Regions from separate parts of the Homo sapiens genome. Here all the other regions are linked to region 1. The links are contacts of gene promoters, found by promoter capture Hi-C in blood cells and fetal thymus (Javierre and others, 2016). All regions are on one chromosome and are shown on one strand. The core of a region is centred on a gene start or on the middle of the fragment in contact, and the rest is flanking DNA. Distances in the headings are between cores, read along the strand shown. Region 1 holds the start of DDX23 (DEAD-box helicase 23). Region 2 holds the start of BCDIN3D (BCDIN3 domain containing RNA methyltransferase). Region 3 holds the start of TMEM106C (transmembrane protein 106C). Region 4 holds the start of FMNL3 (formin like 3). Region 5 holds the start of MCRS1 (microspherule protein 1). Region 6 holds the start of CCDC184 (coiled-coil domain containing 184).

Region 1 (5,225 bases), core at 1,281-3,780:
GGTGACAGAGCAAGACTCCCTCTGTCTCGAGAGAAAAAAAAAAAAAAATCAGCCAGGTGTGGTGGTTCACACTTGTAATCCTAGCACTTTGGGAGGCTAGGGTGGGTGGAATGCCTGAGCTCAAAAGTGCTCAAGAGCTCATAGGCAGAGGCCTGGGAGGAAAATATCGTCCAGGAACACGGCTTGTGCCCCCAGGAGCCAATACTACCTATGGGGCCCATGCCCCTTCGCTCCTGCCTGGGGAGGATCACCTGAGCCCAGGCTGAGGTGGAAAGACTTCTTGACCCTGGGAAGCACTAATGCAGGAGGAATACTGATTCAGGATGAGTTCAGTGAGCTGGGCAGGAGTCAGATAATGAAAATGTGTTACAGGTCAGAGTAGAGTTAACTTGGATTTTAACTGCAATGGGGATCTTAGAAGAGCTTTAAACAGGAAGCAATCTAATACTTTGGTGACTTGCAAGAAAATATATAGCAGAGAGACAGAGTGAAAACACAACCACTGAGAGTGCTATTATGGTACTCTAGGCAAGAGATGGCAGTGGCTTGTTCTAGGAACGTGGCGATGGAGATGGAAAGAAGTAGGCAGCGTCAGAGTATATTTTGGAGGCAAAGCTAACAGGACTTACTAAGGAAGAAGCAGAAAGAGCAGACACAAAGATAGCTCCTAAATTTATAGTTTCAGCAACCTAATAGTTTGTGGTGCCATAGCAAACAAACTGGAGAAGACTAGGGAACGAACAGATTTAAGAGGAAATCAAACGTTTCATTTTGGCCAGGTTGAGTGTGAGAATATCTGTGGAGATTCCCAGAAGGCAAAGAGAAATGCAAATCTGAACTTAGGGGAGAGGGTCTGTAGACAAAAACTTGAGTCACCAATACACAGATAGCTTTTAAAGCCATGGGACACTAAATGATATTACCTAAGTAGGCAGCATAGTGAAAGAAAAAAAATAGAGAAGAAGCTCCAGAATTGAGCTCTGGAACACTTTAACAGGAGTTAGCCACGGGATGAACCAGAGAAAAAGACTGAAAAGAACTAGCAGCCAGTGAGAAAAGACAAAGAAAAGCATGGCAACGAAGAAGCCAAAAACATGTTTCAAGGAGGGAGGGGTCAACTGTGTCAAGTACCACCGAAGTGGAGAGGGAATAAGGGACAGGGAAGTAACCACTGAATTTGGAAAAATGGAGATTATTGGTGACCTTGACAAGAGCTGTTTCAGTTGCATTGCGGGAATGGAAGCCTGAGTGGAATGAGTTTGGAAGAGAATGAAAAATGAGAAGAAGACAGTAAATACAGGCAACTTTTATTACAGGTTCTATTATCACAAGGGCCAAATAACCAGGCTGACTCTGGCCATGCTTCCCAGCAGCCTTCCTCTCAAACCTCCAGATCTTCAGGTCCTCAGTTCTTGCAGGGCAGGGGCACATTCTTTTTTTTCACTCAATGACGTATTTAACAAGCATCTACTGTACGCAAGGCACAGTGCTAGGTGCTATGTGAGTTACAAAAATAAATTCTGTTCACAGGAAGTGTTTAGAACAACAGGGTTATGAGGTCGGACGCGGTGGCTCACGCATGTAATCCTAACACTTTAAGAGGCCGAGACAGGTGGATTGCCTGAGCTCAGGAGTTCGAGACCAGCCTGGGGAACACGGTGAAACCCCGTCTCTACTAAAAATACAAAAAATTAGCCGGGCGTGGCGGCGTGCGCCTGTAATCACAGCTACTCGGGAGGCTGAGACAGGAGAATCGCTTGAACCCGGGAGGCGGAGGTTGCAGAGAACCAAGATCGTGCCATTGCACTCCAGCCTAGGCGACAGAGCGAGACTCCGTCTCAAAAAAAAAAAGAAAAGAAAAGAAAAAAAAGAACAATAGGGGGTATGAGACACATACCAAGAAGAGTATCAAGGCTCAGATGTAGTAATACAGGTGTTCAAAGGCGTTTCCTTTCACTTGTAAAAGGTGATGTGGAAGGCTTGGAAGAGGAAGTGACGCTTGAGCTTTTAAGTATAAGTAGAATTTTAAGATATGTAATTAAGGACGCGGAAAAGAAGTCATTCCCGGCAAAAGAAATAATACGGCCGGCGCAGAGGCGGGAAAACATGGACTGACTGCGAGAGAAAAGCCAGAGTTCCAGTTTGGCTGCACCAAAGGCTACTTTAAGCATGAAAGAATAAGGTCAGACTGGGGGTATCAGAGGCGCTGTGCCCATAGGCAGAGTCCTGGGAGGAAAATATCGTGCAGGGACGTGGCCTGTGCCCGGAGGAGCCAACACTACCCCTGGGGCCCGCGCCCCTTCACTCCAGCCCGCCCGAGCTTCCCGGGTTCATGCCCCTTCTCTGAGGCGTTCTTTCCCGCCTCATCCAGGAGGCAGGGGCCACCGCCGTGCCCTGACTCTAGCCCTTTCTGTAAGCTCGTGGGAACCGCCTCCACCGCCCGGGACTCACCACCCTGAGTCTGAACCGCCCAACGCGGCCTCAACGTCGCGGAGCCGTCGCCATCTTTCCCGTTTCCTGGTCGCGGAGATGAACACCCCCCACCCCCCCGGCCGCGAGGCAAGCTGGGAAGGCGAGTTCCTGGAGCTGGGCGGCACAGGCCGACACTGAGGCCTGGAAACTACCAATCCCAGAATGCATGACTTGAGCGCCGGCCCCAGGCTGCGGGGTCTGCCGGGCAATGTGGTTTGCCAGACGTTAGCGTCCGGGAAGGAAGAGTTTTTCGCCAATAGGCTTTCGGCATTAGGTTCTCCCGCCGAGCACCCTTCTTGGAATCGGCTGGTCTTCCTAGAAACTACGGTCTATGACTGTCCTTGCCCGTGGCTTACAGTGGAGGAATTTAAGGGCTTCCTGAGATATCTGTAGTACGTAATTATAGCTAACAACCGCAGTAACAATAAATACCATTCGTGGAAAAGCGGTTTTTATAATAATTCTGTGAGAATGGGGCTAGCCCCATTTTACAGTTGGACAAACTAAAGATCAGGTTACCGGAGTAGGTTCACAAGGAGGGTGATGCAGTTCTCCATTGTGTGTGGAACTATCCCAGGCTTAGGAGGACGTTTTAGCAACCTTGGCCCCTGCAGCCGGGTGAATGCCATAACAACCCCCAGTTATTGTTACAGCTCCAAATGAGCCCACACAATGGGCTCTAAAGTCCTCCCGGAAGGATGGTATCTCCTGGGCTCTAGCACCTGTTTTCTCAACATTCCAGATGGAACCCTGGTTTCCTCAATTTCTTGCCCTTTGGAATGTGACCAATTGTTGAGCTATCTTGGTATTTTTGCTTCTTTCTTCCCCCAGATTCCCCTACTTCAGTCTTCCACTGAGTTTTGTTGTTGCTGTTGTTGTTGTTGTTGATGTTGTTGTTGTTGTTTTAACCTCAAATCGTAAGTTCACTTTGTGTTTCTCTTTGGTCTTATGGGTTCATAACTCTTTCCCTCAAAACAAAACAAAACATTGCAGTTGCGGAAACGGTTTAGATAACCAGAAGTATCTCGGACCTCCCTTCCCATTTTGCCAGCAGCAGGTTTGTTGCTTCAATTCCACATGGCTGTAGGTCTGCCTTTTCTCTCTGAATATGCCCAAGCTCTCAAGCAGAGCCTCAGGATAGACCCAAGTAATCCTAAAGCCCTGAGCATCACGTACAATGGCCCAAAGTAACCCTCGGAGACACACACTTCTCTTAGAACCTGCAGCCTTTCACCTCCCAGCTTCTACTCCAGAGAGAACGCAAGGGAAAGAAGAGAGCTCTGAGATCTGTTAGGTGTAATTCACCACAAAAGCACGAGAGGGCGCTCGACTCACAGATTCACAGATTAAACTAAGAATCAGACCAACCATGGTAGGCCAGAATCTTCAAAAACTGCAGCCACTTTTTATTGAGAATCTTCTAAGTGCTCAGCTCTGGGCTGGACACTTAACCTACCTTATTTGTTTTACTTAGTTCTCATAGCAGTATGAGATGAGTGCTATCTCCATTTTACTGGTAAGGAGATTGTGGCCCAGAAAGAGTAATTATGCCTTCAAAGGCCACATAGTTAAAAGAATGGGCCAGGTGAGGTGGCTCATGCTTGTATCTCAGCACTTTGGGAGGCCAAGACAGGAGGACTGCTTGAGCCCAGGAGGTCGAGGTCGCAGTGAGCCATGCTCGTGCCACTGCACTACAGCCTGGGTGACAGAGCAAAACCCTGACTGGAAAAAAAAAAAAAAGAAAGAAAGAAAAAAGAAAAGAAAAGAATGGAGCCAAAATTCAGGTTCATTTAACTTCAGAGTCCATTACCTTTCCCCATTTTCAGGCTGCCATCTCAACTCTCTTTAAATTGAGCTCCTGGAGGGTGATAAAGCTTGTCCCAGTTCATAGTGGCAGAGTTCCTCTAGTACTTGTGCGCACATCTCATGACACATGTAAGACATTGGGCTTCAAGGATACTTGTTATTTGTCTTGCCCCACTAGTTCTCTCACAAACATGAATCTTTGTTTTCTTATTTGTTTGTATTTTTATTTTATTTTATTTATTTATTTATTTTTGAGATGGAGTCTCGCTCTGTCGCCAAGCTGGAGTGCAGTGGTGCAATCTCGGCTCACTGCAATCTCCACCTCCCTGGTTCAAGCGATTCTCCTGCTTCAACCTCCCAAGTAGCTGGGATTACAGGCACATGCCACCACACCCAGCTAATTTTTGTATTTTCAGTAGGAACGGGGTTTCATCATGTTGGCCAGGATGGTCTCGATCTCCTGACCTCGTGATCCACCTGCCTCGGCCTCCCAAAGTGCTGGGATTACAGGCGTGAGACTCCACACCTGGCTTATTTACTTATTTATTTTTGAGACCGGGTTTCACTTTGTTGCCCAGGTTGAAGTGGAGTGGCACAAACAGCTCACTGCAGCCCTGACCTGGGCTCAAGTGATCCTCCTGCCTCAGCCTCCCAAGTAGCTGGGACCACAGGTGCACCCCATCATGCCTGGCTAATCGTTTTACTTTCTGTAGAGACAGGGTCTTGCAATGTTGTCCAGTTTGGTCTCAAACTCCTGGCCTCAAGCAATCCGCCCGGCTCGTCCTCCCAAAGTGCTAGAACTACAGGCACCAGTCACCACACCTAAACCATCATCTTTGGAGACAGAGACAGAGGGATGGTGTTCTAGTAAGAACCATAACTGGAGATACCTATTTAGGTACAACATGCCTACCAGTAAGGGGTCCATGGGATTTTGGTGAACAGTG
Region 2 (5,225 bases), core at 1,681-4,180, 990 kb after region 1:
ATGGACAAATAAATGTGGTATAATCATGAAGATAGAATACTAAATAGCAGTTAAAAAATGAAGGCACCCAGCTTGGTGCACAACATGGATGATTCTCACAAATACATAATGTTGAGAAAAAAAGCAAGCCATAACAGAAAATATATGAAAAGCATCCATTTACATGAAGCTCAAAAATGGGTGAAATTAAAGTACATCATTCAGGGAAGAAAAACAGTACACTATAAAGAAAAGCAAGGAAACAACAGAAGGCTAGTTGTTACCTCTGGGTAGAGATAGAGGTTTATGAACAGGAAAAGGCATATAGGGGAAGTTGTGGGGTGCTGAAAATGTTTATTATTTATTTATTTATTTATTTTTGAGACAGGATCTTACTCTGTTTCCCAGGCTGGAGTACAGTGGTGTGATCACTGCAACCTTGACTTCCCAGGCTCCAGAGATCCTCCTACTTCAGCCTTATGAGTAGCTGGAACCACAGGTGCACACCACCATGCCCAGCTAATTTTTGTATTTTTGGTAGGGATGAGATTTTGCCATGTTGCCCAGGCTGATCTCAAACTCCCGAGCTCAAGCAATCCACCAGCGTCAGTCTCTGAAAATGCTGGGATTACAGCGTCAGCCACTGCACCCAGCAGTTTTTTGGGTTTTTTGTTGTTGTTTTATTTGAGACAGGGTCTCACTTCGTCACCCAGGCTGGGGTATGTGGCACAATCAAGGCTCACTGCAGCCTCGACCTCCTGGGTTCAAGCGATCCTCCTCCCTCAGCTCTCTAAGTAGCTGGGACTACAGATGCCCACCACCACACCTGGCTAATTTTTTTTAGAGATGGGGTTTTGCCATGTTGCCCAGGCTGGGAAAGGAGTTTTTAAAATTGAAAAAAAAAAGCACCCATAAATTATGGTACATCTATCCAATGAAACATTAGGAAGCTGCTAAAAAAAGAATGTGGTGATATAAATAATCTCAGAATTAAAAGCTACTAATAGTGTGTTACCATTTGTAAAACTAAAAGGGGGGTACTTATATGTACGTAAATGCTGGTATACACACAAGACTGATACCTAAGAAATTATAAACAGTAGTGCCACTGTGTGGGGGAAAAGGAGGATTTAGGGTTGGGAGTAGAGACTTACTTTTTAGTATATACCCCTTTGTAGTTTGAATTTTTTTGTTTTATCAAGCGCAAGCATTTTTTTTCCCTTTCCTGACTACAAAGATCCACAAGAAAAAGCATTTTTTAAAAACTGCAAAACAGAAAGCTCCATAAACGTACAGCCAGGTTTGGGAACCACTACCCTAGTTAGCTGCCAACTATGTCTTTACCTCTCATGTGTATACTACTCTCAACTTTAAAATCTCTGGTGGTTTCCTAATGCCTTTCGTGAAATCCCAAGCCTTAACCTCAGTCTCTCTTTTCCATTGTTTTTACCCTCTGACTTCCCGTATCATCACAGCGGAGAAATTTTGCAGGGGACACAGGACATCAACCCATCTCCTCATTCCAGTCTTTGAGACTGTATCCAAATGTCCCCTTCCTACTATCATCTGAGTCCCACAAGGTCTGAAGTCGTCCCCCAAAGTCTCTTCTGTAAAAGGACAGCAACGTAACAGAATTGTCCCCCGCCCTCCAGATGCTGGACTGGAGTGATGGAGGGAGCGCAGAGAGGGTACTAACTTTTGAAGCATTTGCCGTGGTAAGTTCAGACTGCCTGCTAGTGTAGAATATCCCAGTGGCTACAAATAGGTGTGGGAGAGACATTTCCTTATTTTGCATGTGGTTTGATTATAATCATATGCCTAAGAATAGTTTGCAGCAAGAAGAGTGGCAGTGCCGCCCTTCTCCATTCCCTTGGGCAAAATGCTTTATTTGCTTCTCGATCCTCTCCACTGTACTCTGTCAACTCACTGTTTTGTTTTGTTTTTGAGACGGAGTCTCGCTCTGTCGCCCAGGCTGGAGTGCAGTGGCACTAGCTCGGCTCACTGCAAGCTCCGCCTCCCGGGTTCACGCCATTCTCCTGCCTCAGCCTCCGGAGTAGCTGGACTACAGGCGCCCGCCACCACGACCGGCTAATTTTTTGTATTTTTAGTAGAGACGGGGTTTCACCGTGTTAGCCAGGATGGTCTCGATCTCGTGACCTTGTGATCCACCCGCCTCGGCCTCCGAAAGTGCTGGGATTACAGGCGTGAGCCAGCGCGCCCGGCCTACTCACTTTTTTTGAAATAAACATGCAGGTCCCAGGGTCTGTCCTGCACTGTATAGCACACATGAGTCTCAATATCAGGCATGATTCTGTCACCCTTGGCTCTTCTCTCCCAGTAAACCAAACCTAACCCCATGTTCCCAAACGTGTGTCTCTGGAAGCCCCCTCTCCCCAGCCAAAGCGCCAGGCACGCTGGACAGAGGCCACCCTAGATACAAGGACCGTTCCCACCTGGGGTCTGGCCCTGAAAGAAAAGTGGGAACGTAGTCGACAAGGACTCCTCTCCAAGAGAGATTCCTAAGACAGATGGTGGAACCCTGGCGGGCAGGCAGCAGCGGCACTGGCTCAGTCAAAGCCACGCTTTATACTCGTTTTGGGAAAGTTTCGATGGGTGTTAGCCCAGGCCAGAACCACAGTGGATGTGTAGGCAGCCAACCACTTGGCTCCGGATGCTCCAATCCCTCCCCTGTCACTCACCCCGGAGTTACACCCCACGTCGAGCCCCAGAATCGGCCCGTTCTCGGGACTCTCAGGAAAGAGCTGTCGAAGCAGCTCCGGGGGCAGGAGGCGGAGCCGTTGCTCCGGAGGGTGGAAGCGAGAATAATGAGGAAAATTTCCGAACGGGGCGGCGCCAGGTGCCAGAACTCGCGATTCCTCTTCCGCTGCGGTCTCCTTAACACTCCCTCCATCCAGTTCCGTGGGCACCGCCATTAGCCTCAACACAGCCTCTGGGCCGTGGCGGAACCGGAAGCCGGGAACCTGCTGTCGGCGTGGGCGGTGGCGGTGCCAGCGCGCGTGCGTCGAACGGCTAGGGCGGGTGGCTAGAATTCTGCGGTGAATCAGAAAAGCTGTCCTGATTTCCTCTCGCTGTATACCTGGAGCCGGCGAGCGCCTGGGGCTTGCCTTGTATTATTGAACCCTCATCACAACACTGGGAGGGGATTAGCAATATCATCCACGTTTTACAGGGATGAAACAAACTCTGAGGGCTAAGTGTCTTGGCCAAGCTGACATAGTTTGAAACTTGGGCTACTTGACCCAGAACAAGTATACTAGTTTGTTGGGATCTTGGAAATCAATTTTAGTCCAATTTCCTTTCTTTATAAATGCAAAAAGTGAGACCGAGAGAACTTACTTGTCTGGGGTCATACATTGAATCTGTGACTCAAAAACTTCCACCCGGTTCAGGAAAGGGTAGCCAGGAGGTGCAGGTCACTTGCGAAGCCAGCCGACTCAGCCCTGTCCCCCAGGGGCAACTGTAGACCATGAGCTCCTTGAGAGGCAAGGACCGTGCCTTAAGAGCCAGCACTTAAAGAGTGCTTACCAGGCACCAGACACCCTTGTAAGCTCCTTAGTCAATCCTCTCACCCCGTGAGAAAATGACCGTATTATTATTCTTTTTATATAGATGAGGACACTGGAGTAAAACAAAGTAACTTGTCCAAGATCCCACAGTTAGAAATGATGGTACTAGGATTCGAACCCAGGGAGTTTGGATCCAGAGGATGTGCTTGCAACGGTGTGTTATTCTCAGCCTTGAGTCTCCTATACTTAACATGGGCCTGGCACAAAGATGCTCAACAAATGTTGTTGAATGAAAACTCAATAGAGAATACAATAAGGCCAGATCTGTTTGGGGAAACTTTAAATGGAAGGGAGAAAGGATGCCAACTGAAGCAGACATAGTGGAATGGAGTTGGGCAAGATGTGACTCAGAGATTGGAAATAACAGAGCTGATAAGGAGAGGAACTGAAGGGTCAACCTAGGTAGCAGGTTCCAGTCAAAAGCCAGGATGGCCCAGAATATCCGTCAGGGTCAACCAAGCATCAGCAGAGTTGTGCAGGACCCCCAACCCCACCCCTGCACCTGGCCCACCCATCTTAAAGGGGTATCCTGCTCCATGAGGCTGGCAGTTCGGTAAACTTCTTATAAGGCACTGGAGCATGACTCCTGCAAACAGTACCATCAGGAGTTAAAATAAGCGCTGTTTTCCTCTCAGTTTTTACTTTATATTTTCTTTTTCTTTTCTCCTTTTTTTGAGATAGAGTCTCACACTATTGCCTGGGCTGGAGTGCAATGACATGATCTCGGCTCACTGCAACCTTTGCCTCCCAGGTTCAAGTGATTCTCCTGCCTCAGCCTCCCAAGTAGCTGGAATTACAGGCACCCGCCACCATTCCTGGCTAAGTTTTTGTATTTTTTAGTAGAGACGGGGTTTCACTATGTTGGCCAGGCTGGTCTCGAACTCCTGACCTCGTGATCTGCCCACCTCGGCCTCCCAAAGTGTTGGGATTACAGGCGAGAGCCACCACGCCCAGCCTTTATATTTTCATCTCTATCTGGCCTGCTGTTTCTCTAGTTTCACTTATTTGAGGACACAAGTTAATAAAAGTCACTCTGGAATTTAGTAAACCACAGTATTCTGCACAATTACAGAAAAGGAGAAAAAGCTGCACCGTTTTGACAAATTTTGGTGAGCTGAGCTGAACTTACCTCTTTTTGTCACTAGATGAAGCTAGCACAAATAATTAACAATTTTCAAGGAGCTGGAATCACCTTGCTTCCAGGACAGTGAATGGCAAGAACTCCTGACCCTGGGGTTCCTCCAGAAGCAAAGATAGGCCCTCGTAACATTACTGGTAATCTAAAATGCCTGACAGGTGACCTCATAAAGAGGTGTTTTAATTTGATCCACTCTGGTAACTTTTCTAACCTATGACCACTTTTCAGAGCCTGAACAGCACAGGTGTCTTGACAATACTTGACAATACCAGCCCCAGCACCTTAAATAGCTGTAGCAGCACCTAAGAGCTCGCTCTGCACTTTGGTCAGCCAGGTTTTATGGAGTGAGATGCATATATAATTTCAAGGGAAAGGGGAAGAAGGGGCGCCCTCTTTAAGGAAAAAACTCCCACCAACTTACAAATATAAAGACAGGTATAAAAGTGAATATTTATTTATAATGAGAAATCACAACAAATTACAAATTTTGAAAAGCTGACTACTAAAAGCATCACAACAAA
Region 3 (5,225 bases), core at 913-3,412, 890 kb before region 1:
GTTTTCTTTTAATTCTCAAAAGCACTCCGTATGCTCAAACACCATATTTTGGGGAATCGTTTTCTGTGACCCAACAGATGAAAAAAAAAAAAACATTTCAAGAAGGAGAAGAGGTGGATCAGAGATGTGAGAGGGGAAGTAGAGGGTCCTTGTTGCCTCTTACTAAAGACTCAGTGGGCTGATTGTGGCCAGTGGTCAGGCAGATGGCTAGACAACAGCAGGTACATTGGCATTCCCCACAGGAGAAAGAGGAAAATACAGAGGTGGCAGAAACCTGAGGGGTCACCAGCCTCAGCCTCACTCTCTATTGCCAAGTGGGCCCCTTATTCATCCCATTTCAGAATATCTCCTCTCCCCTAGCATCATCTTTAATAATTTCACCTGGTTAATGTCTGTACTCAACTCCTGCTGCTGCAGGCTAAGCTCAACCTGGCAGTATGAACAAAGAAACCCACCCATTAAAAAGTACCCTCTAGGCCGGGCACAGTGGCTCACGCCTGTAATCCCAGCACTTTGAGAGGCCAAGGTGGGCAGATCACCTGAGGTCAGGGGTTTGAGGCCAGCCTGGTCAACATGGTGAGACCCGGTCTCCACTAAAAATACAAAAATTAGCCAGGTGTGGAGGTGTGCGCCTGTAATCCCAGCTACTTGTGAGGCTGAGGCAGGAGAATCGCTTGAACCCGGGAGGCGGAGGTTGCAGTGAGCTGAGACTGTGCCACTGTACTCCAGCCTGGTCGACAGAGCAAGACTCCATCTCAAAACAAACGAACAAACAAACAAACGAACGAAAAGTGCTTTCTAACCTCTTACGTACGTGCCTTTTTTGTGGAGGTCTGGGGAAGGGGGGGCCCTACTACCGAATGAATCTACTCCTTGGTGCCTCTTGGCACCTAATTGGCTTGCAAAGCTCAGCTGTGGGGTCCGTTCCTGCGAGAAGCCAGCAGGACTCCCCATGGAAGGTTTCCCCCAGGCTGGGCCCCTCTGACTTGTGAGACTTCCAGCAGCACTTTTATCTACAGTATTGGAGGGGTCTGATGAAGCCTCTGGGTTCCCCTCCTGGACTGAAGACAGGTTCTGATATAATTGCCGGACGGGTTCTCCTTGCCCGTTGCCCAGAGCTGATTCATCAAGACAGGGGAATTGCAATGGAGATTTTAATTCATGCAGAGCCGGCTGAATGAGATACCAGAGTTTTATCACTCAAATAAGTCTCCCCGATAATTCAGAGACTGGGGTTTTTTAAGGATAATTCGGCTGGTAGGTATCAGGCAGTGGGGAGTGCTGATTGGTCAGGTTGGAGATGAAATCATAGGGGGGTCTAAGTGGGTTCTTCTTGCTGTTTTCTGTTCCTGGGTGGGATTGCAGAACTGGCTGAGCCAGATAACTGGTCTAGGTACTGCCAGCTGGTGCCTCAGAATGCAGGGTCTGAAAAATATCCCCAGCACCGATCTTAGATTTTACAATAGTGATGTTATCCCTTGGAGCAATAGGGAAGGTTTGGAATCTTGTGACCTCTGTCTGGATGACTCCTAAACCATAATTTCTAATCTTGTGGCTAATTTGTTAGTCTTACAAAGGCAGTCTGGTCCCCAGGCAAGAAGGGGGTTTGTTTTGGGGAAGGGCTGTTATCTTTGCTTCGAAGTTCAACTATAAACTAAATTCCTCCCAAAGTTAGTTTGGCCTATACCCAGGAATGAACAAGGGCAGTTCGGAGGTTAGAAGCAAGACGGAACTGGGTAAGTCAGATCTCTTTCACTGTCATAATTTTCTCACTTACAATTTTTGCAAAGGCAGTTTATCCGAATGCTCCGCATGTGTGTACCCTCAGCGACTACACAGCTCCTGTACTATAAAGAATATTTCAGAATGGCTTCGGTAGCCGGCAGCACCTTCCTCCTCTCGCAGCAGAGAAGTGTTTTGCTCTGGAAACTTGACTGGAGCCTTTCCCAGCCTATCTAGCGAACAGCAGAGCATCATCCCGACTCCGCGGACTACCGCGGCCCAACAGCAAGGGTCGCGGCTCCCCGGCGCTCTCTGCCGCCCTCTACCGGAACCGAGGGAGCCAGACAGCTGCGATATTGGGAAGGCCTCCGGAGCCGCGAAGAGCGCACGCGCGAGCGCGCGCCCGCGTTCTCCTGGCGGGCTTGGTATTTGGCGCCTGCGCGCTGAGTGCGTGCCGCTCCGCCGACCGAAGAGGCTGGTAAGTCCTCAAGCTGGCAGGTGGTCGGGGGAGCGGCCGGAGAGGAGCTGCCGGGAGTTCGTGCCCTGCAGGTCTGCGACGCTGGCGTTCGCTCCTGCCTGGGCCACTTTGGTGGGCTCAGAGCATCGCTTTTTGCCAAGGGGCGTGACCTGAGCCCGCCTCCTGGGGCTGGGGGGTGGAGAGGAATGGGAATCGTTAAGGCCGGTTATCAATTTGGTGCCTGTTTGTTGCTCGAGGAGGGGCATAGAGCTTACAAATAGTGAAGAGGAAGGGGCGAGGCTGGACCAGGTGGGAGCGGGGGTGCCCCAAGTCCCAGGGCGGTGAGGATCGAGGCAGGTGCGTGAAAGGCAGGCCCCGTTCCCCCTCCCCACCCCCGCCGGCTGTGTGTGGCGGGTAAGAGGAGAGTGGGTAGCACTACTACAAAATGAGGGTCCCGATAGAAATCGTACAGGTGTTGGGACCACACTCAGGGCGGCAACTTGTCATTTTTGCGTTTTTAATTTTCTTATAGAAACAAGCGATTTCTGTCGTGATTCACTGGGGCCGCTAACGTGCACTCCCTCTTTTCATCTTAGGACATGACACCAGTGGCATATCACGGCCATGGGGTCTCAGCATTCCGCTGCTGCTCGCCCCTCCTCCTGCAGGCGAAAGCAAGAAGATGACAGGGACGGTTTGCTGGCTGAACGAGAGCAGGAAGAAGCCATTGCTCAGTTCCCATATGTGGAATTCACCGGGAGAGATAGCATCACCTGTCTCACGTGCCAGGGGACAGGCTACATTCCAACAGGTGATCATGGAGGGATGATTCCCTGATGAGAATCCCAAGGTACCCTCGGAGTTCTCCTGTCTGCCCAGACAACTTTTCTTCTAGGCAGTAATACCATAATAGAGACAGTGCCCTGGACAGGAGCCAGCTCAACTGACTTAATACACTTGGGCAGTTCTGCAACTTCTCTTCCTCTCCTTATTTTTCCAACCCTTTCTTTTCTTTACCGCCACTCTTGTTCTTTTCCTGAGGTTTGGAACATTCAGTTCGCTCTGTGTTGTGGGATTTGTTGACAGGCACATTTCTTTATCGCTGTCACAAGGATTGGGACAGCTTTGCGGGGGAACCATCTTGGAAGCTGCTTTTCAAGGAAATGGGTAGCTAATCCTTAACAGCCTAAGGTCAGAAAAATATATCAGGTCAAGAGAGAGAGACAAATACTTAGCCTTGGTACAGGATCATCTATTACTATTAACAAATTGGCCCTCAGAAAGTCTTTAACAGTTTAGCTGGAGAGTCACAGAAATTTAGAGCTGGTTAGGACCTTCAAAATCATTTACTCCAAAGCTTCCATATGAAAGGCAAGGAAACCATGGCCTTGAGAGATTCGACGACTCTGCCAAGCCCATGCAGTAAAGCCAGAACAGGATCCCAGGTTTTTCAACTTCCACATCACTACCCTGGCAGCACTGATAGATGTTTTATAATTTGTGGCACTCTCTTGTTTCTTGTTCATTAGACCCAACATGTGAATTTCACTAGTATTTTTTAAAATGTCTCATTCCAGAAGAATATTTGTTGTGGCAGGCTCAAGTGAGACGTGAAGGAAGTACTGCCAACACATGGGATTTACAAAATAATTGTTTGGCTCTTTTCTAGAGCAAGTAAATGAGTTGGTGGCTTTGATCCCACACAGTGATCAGAGATTGCGCCCTCAGCGAACGTGAGTTACCTGCTTCTCACCTGTTAATACCTACTTCTGTCCCTAATCTCTTTCTGTATGTATGAATGCCAGTTAATTCTTTGAAAACTACACATGTTCTTATAAGTTCCCCATTTTCCTTATAACTGTTTGCCCAAGCAAGATATCTCTGCCCCCATCACAATCTGGGGAAAGAAACTTGAAGCTGGAAATGCTTTGAAGGTCAAGGAATGGAATCAGAAGAAACTGGGAAAGTGGAGTGTTCTGGGAGGTGTGGGACTGTCTCTGTCCACATAGCTCCTTTCTTCAGCTTTTCTTCCCAGAGTGCAAACAGTGTTTAAAGGAGTTTTAAAAGGTTTCTCCTGCTTCACTGCTTCTTAACTGGTTTATGGTTCCTGGCTCTTGGAACTTCCCTTTCAGCTCCCTTCTCTTTCCTGGTTTTGTGTTTAATCTTGACACATTGAACCTTGATATCTGACTGCCTGGGTCGGTCATGTGCTGTGTCATTTGCAGTAAGCAATATGTCCTCCTGTCCATCCTGCTTTGTCTCCTGGCATCTGGTTTGGTGGTTTTCTTCCTGTTTCCGCATTCAGTCCTTGTGGATGATGACGGCATCAAAGTGGTGAAAGTCACATTTAATAAGCAAGACTCCCTTGTAATTCTCACCATCATGGTAAGCCTTAGGGTTTCATTCCCTGGGTTGTGCACCTGCCAGGCTGGGACCCAGGACACTTACACTTGTTTCCTGACTTGCCCTGATGTAGGCCACCCTGAAAATCAGGAACTCCAACTTCTACACGGTGGCAGTGACCAGCCTGTCCAGCCAGATTCAGTACATGAACACAGTGGTCAGTACATATGTGACTACTAACGTCTCCCTTATTCCACCTCGGAGTGAGCAACTGGTATGCTGTTCTTTTAGGAATCTTGCCCCACAGGCCTAAGAGAAGAGTAGGGGGCTGTAGGAATGCCATAGCTGTGTCACTTTCCTTTTTGTCTCCTCATTTCTACTTGTAGGAACTGGTGATGAGGAAGACCTGTTGGGCCCTGTAATTATAAATAATTGTGAGAAAAAACAGCTATCATTTAAGCATTTGGGGAGCAGAATAATTTGTAAGAGACAAAGATTTGCTACAAAATAAGAAGCAGCAGTGTTACAGCCTGAGGTCCATTGGCCTCTCAAAAGGGAAGAGGTTGGCAGTATCAATTAGAGGCTCATAGACTATATTAGGGACAATCTCAGGGAAGTATTTTGCATGTGATGGAAGAATGACCCAAGGTCTTTGGATTGCTAATAATAATACTGTTCTGTGTCAAGCCTGCTTGGCCACAGA
Region 4 (5,225 bases), core at 1,864-4,363, 860 kb after region 1:
ACCTCAACAAACCTCCCAAATAGCTTTTTCAAAAAACCTAACCAATTATAATGAAGCTGACAATCTAGGAAAGAAAAAGGTGAGAAAGGAACAGTTTATCTGACTGTTTCACACCATCAACAAAAATAAGCTAATCTGGCCAGGCACAGTGGCTCATGCCTGTAATCCCAGCACTTTGGGAGGCCAAGGCGGGTGGATCACCTGAGGTCAGGAGTTCGAGACCAGCCTGGCCAACATGGCGAAACCCCATCTCTACTAAAAACACAAAAATTAGCCAGGCTTAGTGGCACGCGCCTGTAATCCCAGCTACTGGGGAGGCTGAAGCAGGAGAACTGCTTGAACCCGGGAGGCTGAGTTTGCAGTGAGCTGAGATCGTGCTGCCGCACTCCAGCCTGGATGACAGAGCCAAACTCCATCTCAAAAAAAAAAAAAAAAAAAAAAAAAAGAAGCTAATCTATAATCTATATTGAGTACTTACTGGGTGCCAAGCACCTTATATACAGGGGCTCACCTAATTCTCACAATCTCACCAGAACAGGATTACCTCCATTTTACAGATGAGGAAGAAGTCTAGGCTCAGAGAAGTTAAGATACTTGCTAAGCCAGAGTCCTTGATTTTTCTACTACACTATGCTTCTCCTGACTGTTCAGGAAATACCCCTAAGCCTGTACCTGGGTCAAACACCTGACTCAGTCAGTACTGTTCCCAAAGCATGGTAGAAAGGGTACCTTTCAGAACAGTGGACACAGGGACACTTAAGAGCCCCCAGAGAAGAACTCAAATCCCCAAGAAGGGATGATTTCCCTGTATTGGAAAACTGAGGTGAAATCCCGTCTCCTGAGACAACTAACTAGCTCTGGCCTGCCCTGTTCCAACCCTTCATCAGCAGCAGCTCAGGCACACAGAAACAAGACCAAAACAAAAGGCATGAGGAAACAAATCAAAATTTTATACAGAAAGGAAGGCATGCAAGTGGGTGGTCCAGTCCCCCATTTGACCTGGGTTCTCCTGGTGCTCTGGTGTCCTGGTTAACTAGGACATCACGTGCATTTTGTGAATATTAAGCCATTAGTTTGCTAACTAAACGAAATGGTCAACCAAGGGCCAATGAGAACATGATGGATTCTGGTTCTGAGCTCTCACAAAAAATGGCCTGGCAGCTCCCACCTAAGGCAGCCTCCCACCCAATCCACCTCACCCCATCCCTTTCTCCCCAGTTTCTATAGCTAACTTGTGTCAGCTTGCTGGGGATTTTCACACCCCCACCAGAGTGCAGATCCCCTCCCACTCTTTTCCCCAACAGTTGGGCTCTTGTTCTCAAGGCCACTAAGTCCCAGTCTCTCCTCCTCAGCCTGTGAGATGGTCACAGCACATTGGTAATCACTGACTCACCCGATCCCCCGAGGAGGCTGGGGGAAATGCAGAGGGCCACAGGATGTATGGCCCACATCCCTTTGGCCCTTCGCAGAGCTGGCGGGCAGAGAGGTGCCAGCGACACCACTTCCCCTTGGAACACTGTGGACCCTCTTTGAGCCAGCTCTGGTGCCAGTGGGCTGATGTCAGATTCTCTACCATCGGAGAGGCCAAGATCTCTAGACAGCTCCACTGTTGCCAACAGATCTAATCTCCTTATTCCAAGGCAGATGAAATCCAATAAGGCTGCTAAGTCCACAACTTATCCCTCCTGATGGGCAGAGGCAAAGGCAGAGTCGGCCATACCAACAATAACGCCAGAATTATTACTGCTTCTTAGAAAACTCTTTGGGGAAGTGAGAACTATTTCCCCAAATTTCTCAAAGATTAACCCCGGTTTACCAATGTTTTCGCTCTGCAAAACTTCATTTTCAGCGCAAACATATTTTCTGGCTCCTTCCCGGTGATACCAGCTCAGAACCTCTCGCTTCATAGAGCCACTGACATCAATGTCCAATTCCCACACCAAAGAAGAATCCCAAAGTCAGCTCTAAAAACCCATTTATACAGACCGTTTGAAACCCACAGAAAGACTAAAAAGCACAGGCTAAACAACACAAACCAGTCACTATGGCTTAACGTGAAAAGGGGGGGAGGAGGCGGGATGGTTTGTGTATTGTTTCACTTGGAGAAATACCCCAGTGAAATGGTTTATCCACATGTTCAGCCTTTCAGGCAAATCCACTCTAACTTAGCAGGATGCCTGCAGGCCGTTCTGAAAATAAGCAGAATGGCATACTCTTTATTCCACCCCCTTCAGGAGCTGCCAGCCGCCTCCCCATCCCCCTCTCCCCCCAAACATCTGGTCTGGGCTGGGAGTGGGACCCACTCCCTGGGAAGCCTCCATGTTCGCAGGAGAGGCGGTGTCCCCACTCAGGGAAGCCTGCTGAGGAGCGAGCCGGCCGCGCTTCTGAATTCCCCCCACCCGCGAGAGGCTCCGGGCTGAGAATGCTAGGGACGGGGAGCCTGGCGAAGAAGCGGGGAAACGGGAAAAGGGCAGCAGAAGGGGGAGGAAGAAGGAGGGAGAAGCCTGGTTCCTAGGACGGTCCCGAACTGGGGACTTCTCCTAAGGGTCCAGCGGTGGAGGCGTCGGTCCCGAGATCCCCGACGGGGCTGTCCGGGCCGGCCAGCGGCTGCTCAGAGGTTCCTGGGAAGACACTGGAGGCCGGGATCCGTTCGGGACCCCGACTGAAAGGGTGGGCGGGACGGGGGCCCAGCACAAAGTCCCAGCCCGGGCGTCGGGACCTGAGGGGCGGTACGCGGGGGAAGGGGCTGGGCTCAGCTCTCACCAGCACCAGGGCGAACCTTTCCTCCAGCTCACAGGGCTCAGGCATCGGCATCTTGCCGGGCGGCAGCAACAACGGGACAGAGGGGGGCTCTCCCGGGACCCCCTCGGCGCTCTCCAGGTTGCCCATCGCGGCGGGGCCCCCTCAGGGGCCTCGGCCCCCCACCTCCACGCTCCGGAGCTTTCGGCTCCGCGGCTCCGACCAGGCTCCTCCCTCAGCGCCGGCTCCCCGAGTCCCGACTCCTCGGCCCCGTCGAGGGCGCCGGGGGTTCCCTGGAGTCCCGCTGGCGGGGGCGCGCGGCGAGGGCGGAGGCAGCGTAGCGGACAGCCGCACCGAAGCAAGGCGGACGGAGGCGGCCGGCTCTTGCTCACACCCGCCGCCTCGCCGCGCTCGGCGCGCCGCCCGGGCGCTGCCCCTCCCCGCCCCCCGCGCTCTTTCCCTTCCCCCGCCAACCTCGCTTCCTCCCACCCACACCCGGCCGAGACTCGGGCTTCCCCCGCGAGCGCCGACTGCAGCCCGCGCGACGCGCGCCCCATTCATGCAGGCCCCGCCTCCCGCCCAGAGGCCTCACAGGCGGCCCGGCCCGCCCCACCTGCGCCCGATTGACGGCCGCGTCTGCCAATCACAGCGCCTCCCGCCCTTGACGGCCTCGTGCCGGGCGCCGAGCGCTCCCTGGCGGCCTCAGCCGGCATCGAATCACCGCGGTTCCCAGAGGGCGTGAGGGGCTGGCGTGGACACACCGGGAATGGACCGTACCCTTTTTCAAAAGGAACTCATGATGTATACAAGTAAGTAAAATATTATACAAGGCATGGCGTACAAAACTAACTACAAGAGAAGTAGAAACAAGCAGGATACTCAGAAGAGGGAGAGAGATAGTACCTGTTAAGAGTCGGGGTGAGGGAGATCATAGTTGGACCAGGCATTGAGGGATGAGGAAGCCCTTACCCGACAGAGGCAGGGGAAAAAACGTTTGGGAGGAGAGAAGCTTAACCATCTGGCTGCGTGTGAAAATGGAGAGGCGGGAGAAGAACGCTGTTCTGGGCTCAGTCGGCGGCTGGGTCGTTGACATTTGCGGTGGAAATTTGTTGTCTAGCCGCCATCTTCTTCCAGTGAGAGCACCCCCTTTTCTTTTAGGAAACCACCTCTCCCCTCTTCTCAGTCTAAATGGAGCTGAATTTTATCCCCAGTTCCAAAGGACCGCATGACCCAGGCCCAGTCAGTCACAACATTTTCCTCCTCTACCCATGGACACTGTTTTAGGGATTGTCACTTGACCCAAGCCCAGACAATATGATATATCCAAGGCTTTCTCTGAAACAATCAGGAAAGAGGCACTCACTCTCTCTCCATTTAGGCTGCAAAATTATTAGAATGTAAACCTGCAGCCGCTGGTGGCCGTCTTATCATCACCTGTAACACATCAAGCCTGCTTGAGAATGAAGCCAGCGCAGAGGAGAGAAAAGCTATGAGACAGGACAAAATTCTAATGACATGCCAAGAACCTGGATCTAACCATGCCTGAAGTTATCACCTAGATTTTTAATTCATTTATTCAACAAATATTTATTTTAGAAAGTTTATTCTATGCCAGATACTATTCTGGGCATTGAAGGTACATCTGCGAACAAACAGGATATACATTGTGTCCTCTTGGAATTCACAATCTGTGTAGAAGGAAAGGTAGACAATAAACTAGACGAGTAAAATGTATAGATGTTAGTGATCAGTGTTAATAAAAATAAAACTGAAAGGTGATAGAGATGGAAGAGGCATTAAGATTTTAAATAGAGTTGCTTACTTGGGAGGCTGAGGCAGGAGGATCAATTGAAACTAGGAGGTTGAGGCTGTAGTGAGCCATGTTCATGGCACTCCACTCTAGCCTGGGTGACAGGGTGAGGCTCTGTCTCAATAAATAAATAAACACAGCTGTTGCTTGTCACAGGCATGATGGCTTCAAGGTTAATTTTCAGAGCTGGAGCGCTAGCCGCATAGGCCTGAGGGCTTACAGTCCCAATGGGGTGGTTGCAGTGTGCTTCATGGCATCTGGAGGTGGCGTTCCTACTGATGACAAGCAGATGACTGGGCTGGAGAGGGAGTTCATGACAGCCATGTATGAGATTGGACCCATACAATATATTACCCCCAAAGGCAGCTTCAGGCACCAGGGAAGACCCTAACAGCTCCCTCCATCACCAAGATAATAGTGAGCTGCATCGGTGAAGAGGACAACAGTGCTGTCAACTGGTTCTGGCTGCACAAAGGCGAGACCCAGTGATGCTCTAACTATGAACCCATTACAAGCTGATGTCCCACAAGTTGGCCCAGTGAGCCCTGGCACTAATTGCTCAAAATGTGCTGTAAAGTATCTTCTCTCCAATAAAGACTAGTCATTGCATTGGCTCCTTCTTCCCCTCCCTCATAATAAATATTTTAAATAGGATGATCAAGGAAGGACTCACTAA
Region 5 (5,225 bases), core at 1,336-3,835, 720 kb after region 1:
CTCCCCGAACAGCGCCCTGGTTCCACCCCACTGGCCCCCTTTGCCCGGGTAGAAGATTTTGCCAGGCTGCTCTCCACCAGCTCATCATCGAACTTCTTCCTCTTGATGAACCTGTAAAGGGTCCTGCCCAGTGAACACTCCTTACCCCACCCTGGTACCCATTCACACACCCCCAGCCCCCAAAAGAGAGCAGGTGCCCAGTAGGGTGCTATCTGCTCCAGCCTGCTTTCACTTTACGCCACAGCCTGGTTGTGGCCATGGAACTGCTACACTCCAGCCCTCTGAGATGACAGGGTATCACACCACAAAGACTTCACGTCAGAGACCTAAGATCTCCCTCCCCTGCCCTCAGTCCCACAGGGAAGGATTTAGCAGGGACAGGAAAAGCACAAGGCTCTGCCAATACTAAGGCCCCAGAGGGGCTCAGGCAGCCATTCCCAACAGATGGGGAGGCATGTGGCACTTAACGCCACAGACCTTCTACCCTTTCCCAGTTCCTGGCCCTCCGAACCCTTACTACCTGGAGGAGCTTCTCCGTTTAGGGATGGTGCCCAAGGCCTGGGAGGAGGCTCGCTTCTGCCCTGCCAGTGACTCCTCATCCTCTGAGCGGCTGGCAGTGCCTGATGCCATCAGGGATGAATCTAGCAGCCCCTGAGAATCTAGCAAGAGAGAAATGGTGGATTCGGGCCTCCTAAGATCCTAGAGCCTCTGCAAATGGGACCCCTCCCCAGCCCCCTTCCCCTGCCAGCCCTCTTGGCCCCTCCCCTGCCTCCTTGACACTTGAGGTTTTAAGGTAGAGTTCCTTGGCCATCCAGATCCCATCTGGGCTCAGACCTGGCCCAGACCTTCCACGCTGGGCAGTTCCCCCGGTGCCACGTGTCATGTCGTGCAGCACATGGTGCTCAGGTCAGACTGGTGATGCCGACACGCTGGGCTCTGGGCATAACTGCTCCCTCTGCCATCAAAATGCAGCCGTGCTAAAGAGCAGCAGCTCAACAGCAAGTCAGTCAACTGTGGCTCTGCCGACAGGTACATGGGTGGTGCTGGCCCAGGGGGAGGTGGCAAGGCCTAGCCAGGACCGAAAGACACACGTGCCAGGCACAGAGTGGAATCAGCAGATGCTTGGCGCCCGAGCATTTGGGGAGCTGTCCCGGCCTCATACTACCTTTGTCCATCCTCTTACAGTCCCAAAGCCACTGGTTCCAAACCACCGGGCTAGGAGGAACGGTCCCACAGGCTCATCCAAGGATTCTGACCAGGTGAGCTTAAAGGCTGAGAGGAGATTCTGCAAAGGAGAAATGAGGCTCCCTGAGGCTCAGATTTCCAACTGGCCAGCCTCACTTCCTTATACTGGCTCAGGTCCCCCAGGGTCCCATAAGCTAGGGAAGACATAAGGACAGGAAAGAGGCATAAGGCCCCACTCTGCCAATAATAGCCTTAGACATCAGTCTTGTGAAGGTCACTGGCACCTTTCAGAGTATGATAACAGCTATGGACTGCAGAAAAGGGTGCAAACACATACTATTTTAGAGGGTTCATAGACCCTTTAATTCTACTGGTATCTCCTAGGTTAAGCGCCTTGACTATAAACTAGCAAGAGACAAGGGATTCTTTGGCCCACATTTTTCTTTACTTCAGCTGTCCACTCAGCTCAGCAGCACCAGCCTTCCCCTCCCAGGCCAAAGCAGGAAAAAAGAAAGGGAGACAAAACTCCAACCAGTCCATCTCGTTTTTTTTTTGTTTTTCTTTTCCATTTGGGGTTTTTACTGAAGATTTAGTAAGTGGTATTTCCATGAGATACCATCTCGTGGAAACCAAAAACCACTGTTTGGGAACTGCGTGATTATCAACCACGCTGTGCCCCAACAACCCCTAGAGAACCCAGGTACTGGACTTTCTCGGGGCGCTCCTCTCGTGAGTCCCCACTTCTAACCAGGGTGGCTCTTAGCTCAGTGTTCTAGCCCTGTCCCCAGGTGAGCCTGTCGCTCTCCGCTCCATAGGCTACGACTAAGAATCTTGACATCTGAGGAGAGGGCGAAGGGGCCCGAGCTTGCCGGCAAACTGAGGTAGGGTCTGTGCCCCTTCCTTACCGGACCCTCCGCCCCTCGTTCTCCCAAGAGTGCACACCCAAGGTAGGGGATCGGTCCAGGTCTGTCTCAAGAACTCGGGGTAGGAGCATTGATGAAGTCACCTCTGCAACTCAAAGCAGAGCACCAAGTAGCCTTGGTTTGAGACCCACAGGCTGGTGGCTGGGGAGGTGGGGGTAAACTCGCAAGCCCATTCTCACCCCACGGTCTCCATGCCTTTGCGCATGCGTAACACTTCGAGCCAGATTCTAACCCGGTCCGGCCCACGCATGCGCAGCTTTTCGGGGCGCCACTGGGGCGGGGCCCCAAACTTGGGGGGTGGTCGTCCCCGGCGGCACTCTGCAAAACTCCATTTCATCCCCAACTCCTCTGAGAACCCTCAGAGGCGAACCGCGAGGTCTCACCATTCCTAGACTGCCAGATCCAACAATTTCTCCGCGGCGACGGTAGCAGCCGCAGGGCCAAAGCCGGCTTCCGTGAGGTACGTCTACTTCCGGTTAACGAACCAGGGGGCTGGCAATCTCTTCCGGTTCGTCTTGGCAACGTGTGTGAAGGGGGCGTGGCCATGGTACGGAAAGTGTAAATATTTTACCAATAGCGGAAAGTAAAGGCTTTCCTAGTTGGGACAGCATATAGGGAAACGTTAAGGATTATAGGCACCGGAGAGGTAACCCGGCTTGAGGGGTTGGTTAAAGGGAAAGGCGAGACTTAGGGCGAGACCGAGCGGGGCTAATTGAGGCGACCCGGGGAGGGGCGGGACCGCGGACTGGATTTCGACTTCCAAATTCCCACGAGGTATAGGAGTCTGAGGGTTGCACAGGACCTTATGCATTGTTTGACTCCTCCAGAGCCTTTAGAGAAACTTCTATCAGGCCCGCCTGCTAGGCACTAGTCGGGGAGATAATGTAGCCAGGGAGATGTGGCGGACAGAAAGGGCAGAGAGGCTCTCTGAGGAGCGGATGGAGGATCGTGGGCCGCTTTACTGAGAAGGAAGAGACCCTGCGAGAAGGAGTAGTGTCGACTTGGTCCCGTCAGCCGGACCCCACCTGGACGGCTGGGGCCACTTGTGGTCGCCGGGAGGTAAGAGAGAAAACCAATGGAAGCACCTTCAGAGGAGAGTGCCTTGGAAGGAATCTTGGGGTGGGAGAACGAACCTGTCGGAAAAATTGGGAATTTGGGGCTGTGAGAGATGTTCCGGAAAACTAGAAAGACTGTTGTCTAAAAGAGGAATTCTGTTTTATGCTTCCTTTGCGAGGTACTAAAGTCTAGCAGCTATAGAGAGACATACTTCAGCTCAGAATAAGAAAGATTCAGTTCCAAAGCTGTCCATCAGAGGTGTCAAGAACACATAACATGGACATTGCTAGGGAATTCAAGTGTCAAATGAGAGACTGGCCCTTTTGGCCCTGACGGTATACTATGGCCCTCTGCTTCGAGAGTACCAACCTCATTTACTGTTCTGTGGACTTGTTTAATGAGTATGTACTTATTTTAACTCCCATGAAAGAGTGTGTGTTTTATTTTTTAACAGGCACTTGATTAAATATATTATGTAAACTTGTGAAAATATCAGAAAACCAATGAAATTTTTTTTTTTTGAGACAGAGTCCCGCTCCATAGCCCAGGCTGGAGTGCAGTGGCACAATCTCGGCTCACTGCAACCTCCGGCCCCCGGGTCTCGGTTCAGGCAATTCTCCTGCCTCAGCCTCCCGAGTAGCTAGGATTACAGGCACGTGCCACCATGCCCAGCTAAGTTTTTTTTTTTTTTTTTTTGTAGAGACAGGTTTTCACCATGTTGGCCAGGCTGGTCTTGAACTCCTGATCTCATGATCAGGCTGCCTCGGCCTCCCAAAGTGCTGGGATTACAGGCATGAGCCACAGCACCCGGCCTGAAATAATTTTTATAAAAAGTGATTACACAGAACATTAATAATATTAATGTTATTAAATATATATGAATTCATGATAACTATTAAAAACATACAAAGGAAAAGACAGTTGAAGGAAATGCACCAGAATGTTAACACATGTCCAAGTGGTAGTAGTAGTAATTCTTCTCTCTAATTATTTTCCAGTTTTTTAATACATGGTTTTTAAATTTTGTTTTATTTTTTTTGAGACAGAGCCTTCCTCTGTCACCCAGGCTGGAGTGCAGTGGAGCGATCTCGGCTCCTGCAACCTACACCTCCCGGGTTCAAGCGATTCTCATGCCTCAGCCTCCTGAGTAGCTGGGATTGCAGGTGTGCGCCACCATGCCTGGATAATTTTTGTGTTTTTAGTAGAGATGGGGTTTCACTATGTTGACCAGGATGGTCTCAAACTCCTGACCTCAAATGATTCACGCACCTCAGCCTCCCAAAGTGCTGGGATTACAGGTGTGAGCCACTGCGCCCGGCCATATTTTACAATGAAAAAAAAAATAGGTTCTACACAACTTCTTTTTATTGATTGATTGATTTTGAGGCAGAGTCTCGCTCTGTCACCCAGGCTGGAGTACAGTGGCACAATCTCGGCTCACTGCAACCTCCACCTCCTGGGTTCAAGTGATTGTCCTGCCTCAGCCTCACAAGTAGCTGAAATTACAGGTGCCTGCCACCTGCCTGGCTTATTTTTGTATTTTTAGTAGAGACGGGGTTTCGCCATGTTGGCCAGGCTCGTCTCGAACTCCTGGCCTCAAATAATCCACCCGCCTCAGCCTCCCAAAGTGCTGGATTACAGGCGTAAGCCACTGCACTGAGCCACAACTTCCTGAGTGAAAGAGGAGAAAGGAAAACTCTTGGCTTCCAGCTGCCTGAGGTAATTCCTTCCCCCAAGGTGTCACGAGGGAAAGGTGGTGGTCACCATCATCTCCTGTTTGGTACCTGGAAACTCAAACTTCCCCTCTGGTCCTCAATCCTCCCTACTATTGGATAAAAAGAAACCTAGGCACCCTTGTGGTATGGATGCAGGGATTTCTAAAGGGCAGCTTCCTGCTCAAGATTGTGTTTTCTGTTTACACAGCGTGGTGGACTATACTAGCTATAGTTAGTATATATAGTATAGTATCTATACTAGATGAAAGTTCTCAGGATGGTCTTCTATGAAGAGGTGATGACTGAGCTGAGATTTGATGTCGATAGGCAACCAGTCATACAATAA
Region 6 (5,225 bases), core at 1,673-4,172, 670 kb before region 1:
TCTTTCTTTTTCTTTCTTTCTTTTCTCTCTCTCTCTCTCTCTCTTTCTTTCTTTCGACTAAGTCTTGCTCTGTCACCCAGGCTGGAGTGCAGTGGCACAATCTTGGCTCACTGCAACCTCTGCCTCCTGGGTTTGAGCGACTGTCCTGCCTCAGCCTCTGGAGTAGCTGGGATTACAGGTGCCCACCACCATGCCCAGCTAATTTTTGTGTTTTTAGTACAGACAGGGCTTCACCATGTTGACCAGGCTGATCTCAAACTACTGATCTTAAGTGATCCACCCACCTCAGCCTCCCACAATGCTGGGATTACAGGCATGAGCCACCGCACCCAGCCACCTTCCTATATTTTCAAATCCTGCTACTGGTCCACTCCCCCAGTTCCCACCTACCCTTGGCTCTCAAATGTTTGACCTGGAACTTGACTGGACCAGCCAAACTGCTTGATCTCTGCACATGTTTCCCATGGCCTTTTGTGCTTCTCCAATAATTTCCCCTCCCTCTGGGCTCAGATCCCTTGTACTCTCAGTGGACTTCATGGCCAGCACCTCTGGACAGCATGATGTAATCTTATGCTGAAAGCCTTCACATCCTCAAGAATAGTGGCAAAAGGCCTTGTATGATGACATACCATAGCTCCTCCTGTATGGGGGCTATGCTTAGTGTAAGCTTATGGGATTTCAACAATGAGAGGTCCCCCACTGGGACAGAGTCACTCTTTGTAGGTAGAAGGTAGGGATATACCTGAAGGGTGAATTGGCAAGATGAAATCTTCCATGTGAAGTGCTTGTCAAGAGATGTAAAGTAACAGACCTAGACAGAAAGTCTGAAAGCCATGCCAGTCTTTTCTGGCTATAGCAGAGCTCTCCTCGGAAGGATGAAAGCAGGGTTGGACCTATAAGCCCTGAGAACATGCTTGCTGTAGTATAATCAGAAACTTATGCTGTGTAAGCTCAGCTGTTTTCATGTGTTCTGTTTCTATTTCTAGTTTTCCTATAGTTTTTAATAAAGTCTCTTTGTAAACACCAGCCCACTTCAGCTGTGCTTATGGAAACCAAGGAAAAGCATTTCTGTCCTCTCTTGAGCCAGAGTTTCAGGAGTAATCTAAGGTGTTATTACCACGTGTGGGGTACAGAGCAGAGGTAGGAGTCCTAAGCAAGGTGAGAGTGCTGGAAATCTGTAGAATGAAGGAAGAAATGAGCAAGCAAATAGAATTGAATCATTAGTTTCAGAAAATACAATACTGTGTTTTTAAAATTTGTTCATATATTTGTTTTGGGAAATCAAATTTTTAATGGCTGCATAATACTTTATGTATCAGCAATTTTGCCTTAGTTTATTTAAACATTCTGCTGCTGGTCATTTAGGATAGTCCCCACTTGTTTCTATTTTAAAAGCAGTAAGATTGGTATAGGTCAAGCAGTCCTCTAGTGTCACAAAACTTTCCCTGGGCCAGCCTCACTCTTCATCACCAAGCACATAACCAGGGAAACCCAAAGGTAACACATTTGCTGTCACTGAACCGCCAGTCTACAAAACACTCACCTTTACGTAGTTCTTCTCTATCTTGAAGTGATATAGTTTGTTTCTCTTTCCCAGATTTATTCTTATGAACTTCATTTTTGGCTTCCGATCACTTGGCTTCCCTAATTTCCTAGGGTCATTATTAATTATTGTGCTCTGCCCAGGTGCTGATTCCTTCTCAATCTGCAATCATCTACGTATATTAAAGACAATTTTTCTTCTTCCTCCACCCTTCCTGCTCCACCCCTTAAATAGGGAAAGGGCTTGTCACAAAGGTTGGGGATACTCAGTGTATGTCTGAACTTGGGCACTGAAAGAGAGAGCGGGAATTACTCTAACACACAGTCCCCCCATCCATACCCTCCACACAACGGTCAACAGTTTACCTTTTCACCTGTGAGATGATGCAGACTGTTATTCAGAATTAGAAATAGTATTATAGATTATCCAGTCCAATTCCCTAACAGATGAGGAAAATGATGTGGCCAAGGTCGCTGAATGAATAAGTGGCAGAAACGAAACTGAATTCAGGTCTCCTAAAACCCACTACGTTTGGCTTGGGGAGTTCTGGATGAGAGCGTGGGACTTGGTGGTTTTTGTTATTCATTCAATAACTATATTAAGCATCTACATACTAGGTGCCAGGCACTATTTTAGGAGCTGGGGATTCCGTGATGGAGGGTGCAGGGGAGACAAAAATCTCTCCCCTTATGGAGCTTTCATTCTCAAAACTTAAGCACTTGGCCTCCCCATCTGGGACAAACTCCCAGAGACCTGCGTAGGAGCGGTAGGGTCTCATAAAGGAGGGAGTCCCATCCTTCCCCCGCTCCGGTGATTTCTATAGCTAGAGGGCTGATTTACTGCAGAAACCTCCGTAGCGCCCTCCTCCTGCCTCTGCACCGTCAGGCCCGGTGGGTCCGGCTCCAGAGCGCCACCGTGCCCCAGCTCAACTCTGGGATCATTAGCAACAGCCTCTCTACCCTCTCCGCTTTCCTGCGCATCGCTGGAGGACAGGGAGGCAGGACTCGACTTTAGCGCCATCCTCTGAGAAAGGAATGCGGGCTGGAAAAATCTTTCCAGGGCAGTCTCGCTGGGTCTCATACCCCGGCTAGGGGAGGGACGATCTCTCCCGGACTTGGAGGTTTCTGCAGCAGACGGCTCTCTCATACTTCCCTATTAAACATTGCGACCACACGCTCTTTCCAGCCTTGGCCGAAGCCACTGTAGCGTCCCCTCTCCTCCCCCCACCCCGCTAGTCCAGACTCCAGAGCCCCACTGCAGCTTCCAGCCATCCTCCCTTTTTCTTCGCCACTTCCTGGTTACCATGGAGACACACGTCATTTACGTGCCGTGCGTCGCCTTGGAAACAGAGGAGCATCCGCGACACCCCCGGGAGACCCACCCCAGCTGCTGCTGCCACACTCGCGGGCGCTGCCCGGTAATGGCCTGGGGGAGTCCCGAGTCCGACGCGCCGCTGGCCTCAGCCTGGACGCGGACCCCTCCGCGAGCGCGTCTGTGACCCACGGAACCGGCAGGCGCTCTCTGCTTGTGGCGCCCAGAGGGCGGCGCTGACACGGGCGCGATCCGGGAGGCGAGGCAGGGCAGGGCACTTTCGTCCCGGGGCGATCCCAAGAGACGCCGGCTCTGGGACCCTCGCCGGGTCCTCGTCCCGCAGCCTCTTCTCGGCCTCCCGCGATCCTGCCTGCGCCCTCTGCCCAGGACTCGTCTCTCACGTCGGCTCCCCGCCAGTCTCGGGAGCCTCCGCTTCCCTCGGCTCCCGCTAGCCCCTCCCGGGACCTCTCCCCCTCCACCCCCTCCCCCACCCCGGAGGCCGGGCTGGACGCGACCCAGAGCCTCCGCCACCCGCTTCTGCCACTCAATGGAGGACGGTCTGCTGGAGATCATGACCAAGGACGGCGGCGACATGCCGGCGCCCCTGGAGGTGTCCACCGTGCCGGCAGTGGGGGACGTGATCTCCGGGGAGTACAACGGCGGCATGAAGGAACTGATGGAGCACCTGAAAGCCCAGCTGCAAGCCCTGTTTGAGGACGTGAGGGCCATGAGGGGGGCCCTGGACGAGCAGGCCTCGCACATCCAGGTGCTCTCGGACGACGTGTGCGCCAACCAGCGAGCCATCGTCTCCATGTGCCAGATTATGACCACTGCGCCCCGCCAGGGCGGCTTGGGCGTGGTCGGCGGCAAGGGGAGCTTCCAGAGCGACCCCCAAGAGCCGGAGACTCCTTCGCCTGGGATCGGGGACAGCGGCTTGCTGGGTCGCGATCCCGAGGACGAGGAGGAAGAGGAAGAAGAGAAGGAGATGCCCAGCCCCGCCACACCCTCCAGTCACTGTGAGCGCCCCGAAAGCCCCTGTGCTGGTCTCCTTGGGGGGGACGGGCCACTTGTGGAGCCCCTCGACATGCCCGACATTACCCTGCTGCAACTGGAGGGCGAGGCCTCCCTGTGAGGGGACTCCGTGGGGCACTACCTTCCCGGGCTGTCTTTGGGTTTCCGAGTGCATGACGCGAGGGGGACTGAACGGCGCGGTGCGGCATGCTTCACTTGGACAGCTGCTCTTGTGGGTCAGGCAGAGAGAGACTCCCTCGAGGAAGGATTTGTAGGGTGAAGGACTTTGGGAGCATCGAGAATTCTTTCTGCCCAACTAAGCGAATTATAGCGAACTGCGGAAAGGTGAGGCTCCGGGAGAGGAAGCGCCCATCTCTGGACTCCCATCCATCCCTATCCTGTCCTTTCCCCCTTCCCAGACAACAGGAGAACCCGTGAATTGTGTAAATAAAATTCTGCTTTTTCTATTCTGAAAAAGGACTTACCTAGGACCATGGCAAATAATCTCTAACAATTTACCTGGAAATTAAGGAATTGGGGGTATTTTGTTCTGGCAACAGGAAATTTACCCTTCTGCTGAAATCCAAGATATTCAGTGCTCTGCAGAAGCCTCTCCCCCTCACAGATCTCTGCGGCTGCTGATTGGTAAAGGAAGCTTGAGGAGGGAACTGCAGCCCTAGGAATCTGGGTGAATGGGGTTCCAAGGGCCCCTGGGCTGGGAGGAGCTGGCTATGAATGTGCATGAAGACATAATAGCTCAACCTCTAGGATTTTGCATGCAGAGCGGATCCTGCCTTGTCACTGACTTCATCTGGGATTGCTTTTCCACTCCCTGGGGCTTAGAGAACAAAGAGCCCGGTTCACAGGCAGAGACTCGGGGGTGCTCAGCAGCAGCCCAGATTTAGGGGACATTTGAGGGACTCTTGGGGCCGCAGCCAAAAACTGTCTCTCCTGGCTACACCTGCTTAACTTCAGTTCCTTTTTCTGTCAATATGTCCTTGCCCACTGCCTCTCGGTGTTGCCTTCATAATGTCTTGTGTGTGTTATGTGTGTCTACTTGTGTAGTAGTGTGTGAGCCCTCAGGGGCAGGGCTTGTGGCTCTGGTGTTAGGTTCAGGGGCTTCAGACCCTTCTACGAGCTCCAAGCTATCAATGGCGCTTTTCTCTCCCTCTTCCCCCAACCAGGGCATGGAGCATGTGGCTGTCCTGAGGTTCTTTTACTGATGTGCCGCCCTTCCACCTCCTCAAGTGGTGACTTTGTGTGCCCTCCCCCTCCTTTGTGTATTCCTTCTCAATGCTTTCCTTGGTGTTAACCTTAATAAAAAGGCGTCATCTCCCCTCCTTGCTGACTGGTACTAAGG

The links. Contacts are between HindIII fragments. The CHiCAGO score rates a contact against its expected background, and 5 or more counts as called.
Region 2: the fragment with the promoter of BCDIN3D here is called in contact with the fragment with the promoter of DDX23 in region 1 in 8 of 17 cell types (neutrophils, total B cells, fetal thymus and 5 more); the score reaches 13.5 in neutrophils.
Region 3: the fragment with the promoter of TMEM106C here is called in contact with the fragment with the promoter of DDX23 in region 1 in 4 of 17 cell types (fetal thymus, neutrophils, M1 macrophages and 1 more); the score reaches 9.4 in fetal thymus.
Region 4: the fragment with the promoter of FMNL3 here is called in contact with the fragment with the promoter of DDX23 in region 1 in 9 of 17 cell types (neutrophils, naive CD8 T cells, naive B cells and 6 more); the score reaches 10.9 in neutrophils.
Region 5: the fragment with the promoter of MCRS1 here is called in contact with the fragment with the promoter of DDX23 in region 1 in 10 of 17 cell types (neutrophils, naive CD8 T cells, fetal thymus and 7 more); the score reaches 13.8 in neutrophils.
Region 6: a contact is called between the fragment with the promoter of CCDC184 here and the fragment with the promoter of DDX23 in region 1, in 5 of 17 cell types (neutrophils, fetal thymus, naive CD8 T cells and 2 more). The highest score is 11.6, in neutrophils.

Annotation. Positions count from the first base shown.
Region 1 is chr12:48,849,633-48,854,857 of GRCh38, forward strand. It overlaps DDX23 (DEAD-box helicase 23), which reads right to left and starts at 2,531. Exons shown (of 17, transcript NM_004818.3): 1 at 2,452-2,531. LOC105369755 (a long non-coding RNA gene) reads left to right here and starts at 2,089. Exons shown (of 2, transcript XR_944925.3): 1 at 2,089-2,182; 2 at 2,418-2,917. RefSeq lists enhancers at 2,387-2,576, 3,456-3,665. The HindIII fragment of the contact is 5,632 bases long and covers 1-4,344 here.
Region 2 is chr12:49,840,176-49,845,400 of GRCh38, forward strand. It overlaps BCDIN3D (BCDIN3 domain containing RNA methyltransferase), which reads right to left and starts at 2,931. Exons shown (of 2, transcript NM_181708.3): 1 at 2,679-2,931. The coding sequence starts at 2,912. BCDIN3D-AS1 (BCDIN3D antisense RNA 1) reads left to right here. Exons shown (of 3, transcript NR_027501.1): 3 at 1-979. RefSeq lists enhancers at 2,274-2,643, 3,214-3,273. The HindIII fragment of the contact is 7,812 bases long and covers 1-5,225 here.
Region 3 is chr12:47,961,434-47,966,658 of GRCh38, forward strand. TMEM106C (transmembrane protein 106C) reads left to right here and starts at 2,163. Exons shown (of 8, transcript NM_001143842.2): 1 at 2,163-2,271; 2 at 2,776-2,990; 3 at 3,849-3,912; 4 at 4,405-4,564; 5 at 4,656-4,796. The coding sequence starts at 2,804. The HindIII fragment of the contact is 3,638 bases long and covers 1-3,534 here.
Region 4 is chr12:49,704,292-49,709,516 of GRCh38, forward strand. It overlaps FMNL3 (formin like 3), which reads right to left and starts at 3,114. Exons shown (of 26, transcript NM_175736.5): 1 at 2,764-3,114. The coding sequence starts at 2,889. LOC124902929 (a long non-coding RNA gene) reads left to right here and starts at 3,435. Exons shown (of 3, transcript XR_007063299.1): 1 at 3,435-3,548. It also overlaps the pseudogene COX5BP5. RefSeq lists a silencer at 2,758-3,527 and an enhancer at 3,548-3,697. The HindIII fragment of the contact is 3,771 bases long and covers 1-3,746 here.
Region 5 is chr12:49,565,557-49,570,781 of GRCh38, forward strand. It overlaps MCRS1 (microspherule protein 1), which reads right to left and starts at 2,586. Exons shown (of 15, transcript NM_006337.5): 1 at 2,492-2,586; 2 at 1,166-1,285; 3 at 521-659; 4 at 1-111. The coding sequence starts at 1,175. RefSeq lists enhancers at 1,882-2,685, 3,036-3,085. The HindIII fragment of the contact is 9,561 bases long and covers 1-5,225 here.
Region 6 is chr12:48,180,722-48,185,946 of GRCh38, forward strand. CCDC184 (coiled-coil domain containing 184) reads left to right here and starts at 2,923. Exons shown (of 1, transcript NM_001013635.4): 1 at 2,923-5,205. The coding sequence starts at 3,402. The coding sequence ends at 3,986. The HindIII fragment of the contact is 3,853 bases long and covers 666-4,518 here.